2 separate regions of the Homo sapiens genome follow, and region 2 is linked to region 1. The links are contacts of gene promoters, found by promoter capture Hi-C in blood cells and fetal thymus (Javierre and others, 2016). All regions are on one chromosome and are shown on one strand. Each heading gives the region's core, a stretch centred on a gene start or on the middle of the fragment in contact. The rest is flanking DNA. Distances are from core to core; before and after follow the strand shown.

Region 1 (2,700 bases), core at 51-2,550:
GTCTCCCGAGACGGCGGGCCCGGGTCCTCCGGTTCCCACGGGACGCCGGGACCCGGACCTCTGGGAAAGTTCGCGGGCACAGCCCGAGGCCCCACTTTCTGCCGAGAGTGACAGGCCCTTCCCACGCCTGCCGGCCCCAGCCCAGCCGCGGGCACCAGACGGTCCGCGCGGCCCCTCCTGGCCGCCTCGGGGCGCAGATTCCGCCCGCCCGCCCTATCCCCGGCCGAGGCGCCCCTCGGGGTGACCGACTGACCGGAGCTCCGCTGGCCCACACACCGGGTCGCCCGCTCCTTCCCGCCGCGCCCCGCTCCCCCGCCCGAGCTTCCAGCCGCCGGCTCGCCAAGTCCGGCCGCGGCCGCCGGTTACCGCCCCCAGCCCGGGGGGAGCCCGGGGGGCAGGACGGGGAGGAGGACGTGGCGTGCTCGGAGGTGGCCAGCAGCGGGGCGGGGAGTGTCCCGGAGAGGCCCAGCCGGGGACGGGGGGGCCAGGCCGGCGCGGGCTCGGGACCCTCCCCGCGAGCATCCCCGGGTTCGAGGCCCCCGACCGCCCCCGCCGGCGCGGAGAGGCGGCCCCAACTTCCAGCCCCACTTCGCACTCCCGCCCTCTTCCCTCCACCATATGGAAATCTACAGCCTCAGAAAGTGACACGTCGAAGATTCCTCGGCCTCGCCGCCCGCCCTCCCCCTCCTGGGCAGCGTTCCTGCCGCGGAGATTCCGGGAGGGGGAGCGGATTCCTCGGACAAAATCTGCTGGGAAGGCTGGGGGTGGGGGGAGGCCGCGAGCCACTGCCCAATTTTTTTTAAGAGGAATCTACCCGTTTCTTTCACTCCTCCAAACCCTGAGGCAGGGGGCACAGGCGGGGGACCCCAGCCCAGCAAGGCGGGGGCCGCCCCCTCCCGGGTCCCGTGTTCCCGGGGTGCCCAGGCGAGCACGGGGCGCCCCAGCACTCCGGCGCCAAGTTTTTGCCGGGAAGCCCAGGGCGCTCCCGGGACAGGGACGCACTTTGGCGGACTCGGCGTCAGGCCGGGGCTTTCCAGTGCACCGGGACCCGGCGATCGCGCTCGGGGTCCCGGTCTCCTCTAGTCCCCGGCTCTTGCACGCCTTACCTTCCCTAGGGCTGAAACGCGGGGCTCTGGGCGCGCCACACACCGGGTCGCCCACGCCTTCCCAGCCGGCAGCCTGGAGGATCCCTGCCGCCCCCTTCGCTGCTCCCGCCGCCGCCGCTCTCCTCCTCCAGCCGCCGCCGCCGCCGCTCAAATAACTACCAGGAGGGTTTGATGGGGGATTCCGCCATGTCAATGATGTCGGGACCACATGGGGATTTGGGGCCCGCCCATTACCGTAAACCGCCGAATATACCGGCCGCCACAATCGCAGACTCGCAGAAGCTGTTGTCCCCCGGCCCTGCCTAGCTAAGCAGAAACTCCTTTTGGTTCAGCCAGACTAAAGAAACCTGAGGCTTAGGGAACTAACAACTCCTGAATGGCGAGGGCTGCGCGTTCTGCAGATCGCCAAAGTAATATAAAGGCAATGTTTACTCAGTGATAATTAAGCCTAAAACTGACTTTTTTTCATTTACACATATATTTCGCTTTTTGTTGTTGTTAACCCCCACAGCAACCTTGTGAGCTATATTACTCCCACATTTCCCACAGCATTTTATTCATACAACTAACATAGTATGAGCAATTTTTATTATACTTAAGTTAAAATCTCTCTTTCCTCTTTCTTTTTGTTTTTTGTTTTTTGTTGTTGTTGTTGTTTGTTTTGGGGACTGCAGGCACGGGGCAGGCATGAGCCACCGCACCCTTTTTTTTTTTTTTTTTTTTTCCTTTTTTGGAAGAGAGGGGGTCTCAATAGGTTGCCCAGGCTGGTCTGGAACTCTGTCGCTCAAGTGATTCTCCCGCCTTGGCCTCCCAAAGTGTTGAGATTACAGGCGTGAGCCAACTCACCCAGCCTTATTTCACAATGCGTTTCTCAGGGACAAAGACTGTTTCTTACTTTTATCTTTATATCCGTAAAATATAGCACAGTGCAAGGACCACAATAGGACTCATTAAATAACTGTTGAGTTCATATTAAGTCAAATGTAATGTATTTCTGTTGTACAGGCTCTAAGAGGTTAACAGACTGCATCCCATGCCACCCCTCAGATTATTCAGGAGACAAGAGAGCAAAAGTTAGCCTAGAGAAGCCCCTTCCATCCATAGCTGTCCAGGTATTCTGAATAGCTACATTCAGCCTCAACTATTAAGCTACAAAGGAGCATTCAGGGAGTCACTAGAGACAATGTATTACTTTTGTTAACCTAAAAAATAATAATAGCAGTACATAATACTCTGTTAAAGTCTAAAGAACACTAAGAAATAGCTCCTTCCTTCCCTTGTTCATTTGCCATTCTTTTGGGGAGATTTTAGCCTTTTTTTTTTTTTTTTGGAGGCAATGGTGAGTCCAGAGAAATGGGGACCTCTCTCCTAAATGGCTTATTTACTGTGGAGCTCCTCAAAGGGGAACTTGAAGCCATCTTTCTATAACATAACTCCAATTCTAGGTCATAGTCCTGCATGAGAAGCCGGGGCGGGGGGTAGGCAGTAGTTCCTTAGTGCCAATAGGGTACAATCCAATAGATCCCATTTGAGTCCAAATGCCTTCTCTGGCTCCAGACTCTTTGGCTTCCTCAGGTGCCATGCCTTCAGCCCA
Region 2 (2,700 bases), core at 3-2,502, 5.3 Mb before region 1:
TGGGGTCACAAAGGGGGGAGCAGTGGCACGAAGGGGATGGGGAGGAAGACCTCCCTGTTCCCTCCCCCACCCTGCAGGGGCCTTCCTCTTAGGCTGCAGAGCCGAGGGTCGCTCTCCGTGGTGGAGTTCCCTCTGCAGAAGACCCCTGGAAAATTGCACTTCAGCAGTGGTGACATTTTATAGGCCATGATTTGCTGCATTTATGGCTCTGGCAGTGCAGGTGCGGAGTCGTAGGCTCCCGTTCTCACCCTGCAAATTGCTCACAGTGCAATCTGTCATCTTCAAGGCTAGGTGTGAACCGGGCAGGGTTGCCCTTAAAACGGAATTGCAGTTAAAGGCCGGGATCTGGAAGGAAGCGCTCTACCCCGGGGCGTGGCCTTTCCCACCGGCTCTGGACCTTTCCTTCAAGCCCCGCCATGCGCGCCCACCGACTTGGCTGTCGCAGCCTGGGGGCACTGGGCGCCCTGGGCTCTGCCTGCCTGCAGAGCTCTCATTCTTTCCGTTCCAGGCCTGTGGAATCCTCCAGTGAACAAGGCCTCATGCTGGCCTCTGCCCCACCCCACTGCGAGGAGCCGCTCCTCCTCCGAGGCCTATGGTTTTTCTCCCCGCGGAGTGGGCTTGGTGGGAGCACCGCGTGGCGCAAACAGCACGGGGGGACTTTGGAATCGCCTGGACTTGAGCCCTGCCCCACCACGTGTTCGCTGTGTGAATGTGGACAGGGTGGTTACCCTCTCTACAGCCCGCGTCTTAAAATGGGAGTAGTAACAACCCCCTCAACAGTTGTTCTGAGGATTAAGTGAAATTCAGATTTCATAGGAGACCTTTTTCAATAGTCAAGTCTCTCGCCTTTATGAGTCAAGTTCCACTGGGGCCAGAGGCCCTGTGGTTGTTTCTGAAAACAAGGTCAGCAGAAGTGCTAGACCCATTGTTTCCTCAACTCAGCCCTTCCCCCTACACTCCTGGCAAAGTGGAGCCCGCAGCCTCTTCCGACCCACTTCCACCTTCACCCACACCCACAGGCTTACAGGGCAGAGCTGTTTTGTTGACGGGGCGGGGGTGGGGGTGGGGACGTGGAAACTGTACCTCTGACCTAAGCTGGACCATTCACGGCCCTTCTCAAATTTCCCTCCCCCACCTTGCCACAGGGGATTGGTCCCAGCGGGAAGAGCTGACATATTTGAATCCAATCAAAAGCCTTCTTGGGAAATTTTGAAACTGGAAGTGAAAAAGTCAGTTTCTCCCCAGGGCTAAAACTGCAAGATATTATAACATACATGACCATGTTTCCCATGGTCAGGAGAGGAGAGGCAAGGCCAATCTGAAGGCAGAAACAGAGATAAAGATCGAGCAGAAAACAAAGATAGAGCCTCAGCCACAGCCAGACAGGCTGGGAGAGAGCGCTGAGGCCAACAGGAGTCTAATGTTATTGGCAGCATCGGTTCCTGTGTCCCTGGTACAGCCCTGCCTGCCCCCGATTCCTTGCGACAGCCCATTATTTTTTGCCACAAATTCTTATTGTTTAACCTAGTTTGTGTTTTTGTTGCTTCTAATCCAAAAATCCCATGGCATTTACTAGTTTAACTTACACAGTATGTCAGTTGAGTTCAAGAGCTCCCCAGCCCCATTATAACCCCCCGAGAAGTCTTCTATCCTCCGCAGCATATGTCAGTGCCCCATAACAAGGTGCTCAATAAATGCTCTTCAGATTGCACTGAGCAAGTTGTGAGTGGACGGGAAGTGCCCTGGTGGCTGTTGAAACTGGAGGCTTCAACTGGTTAATTTAAAGGGGAAGCATCGCCAATTGCCACAGACTTCTAGAAGCCCATTTATTGTACCCTAGTGGTAATTAGGGCTTATTCAAGTGAATAGAAAGAGAAAAGAGAAGAAACTTTATCCCCTCTAAATTGCATTTAATAAAAATCTTGGAGAAAATGAGTGAATTGTCAGGCTTAATAATTTCCCCTGGGTCTTTGTTGGAGGGAGGCTGAGGAAATGTACAGTATTCTACATTTATAGGACAGCAGATCTGCATTTTAACAGAGTAAAATGCAGTCGTGGCTTACCCTCCTTTTTTCCCCCTTCATTTGTTTCCAAAGGGTTTTTTTCCAGCTCATGAGTCACTTCCAGTCAGATTCAAAGACAAAAGCCGGCTAATTGTGTGTCCATGAGTCAGGGTCCCACCCTGCCTTATCTGAACACCCTTTCTAGCTCTGAGAAGACAGAGCAATTTTCAGCCTATAAGGCATTGAGTGGAACCTGTTACACACCGCTTCTGGGTCAGGCTCTTTAGGGAGCAGTCCAGGCCCTTCCATTTCCTTCTGGCATCTGGCAGCTGATAGCACCTTGGGGTGTTTCCTTGCCAGTGTTATTTTCAGTCAGGAACTGTGCAGTCTACCCTGTTCCTAAGGCACCCTGTTGAGCCCAGAGAGATAAAGGTGAATTTAAAAGGAGGTCTAAACCCTCTAGCAATTTATCATATAATGAAGGAGAAAGGCAGAAAAGAATCACTGTTAGACAAGCTTTGAGGGTTATGGAAGAGTAAGTGCTAAGACTAATGATTTCTCAGTCTGCACCCCTTGCTGTCTCTCAGCAGCATTTTATCTGGTTGACTTTCCAACTACTTGAAACATTTTATTTCCAGACCTCCCTGATGTTACTTTGTTTTCCAAGCAGTGTCTATTTCCCACCCCCACTTTTTCT

The links. The method cuts DNA at HindIII sites, captures the fragments that hold promoters and counts their contacts. A CHiCAGO score of 5 or more calls a contact.
Region 2: a fragment that was not itself captured here is called in contact with the fragment with the promoter of FNDC3B in region 1 in 2 of 17 cell types (naive B cells and total B cells); the score reaches 11.1 in naive B cells.

What each region holds. Positions count from the first base shown.
Region 1 is chr3:172,038,178-172,040,877 of GRCh38, reverse strand. It overlaps FNDC3B (fibronectin type III domain containing 3B), which reads right to left and starts at 1,300. Exons shown (of 26, transcript NM_022763.4): 1 at 1,107-1,300. RefSeq lists silencers at 1-317, 378-627, 808-907, 1,048-1,227 and enhancers at 146-812, 813-1,480. The HindIII fragment of the contact is 7,479 bases long and covers 1-2,700 here.
Region 2 is chr3:177,357,082-177,359,781 of GRCh38, reverse strand. No RefSeq gene overlaps it. Among named protein-coding and RNA genes, the nearest start is that of LINC00501, 64 kb to the right of the region's middle. RefSeq lists enhancers at 1-253, 927-1,221, 1,108-1,347, 1,468-1,667. The HindIII fragment of the contact is 2,538 bases long and covers 1-2,521 here.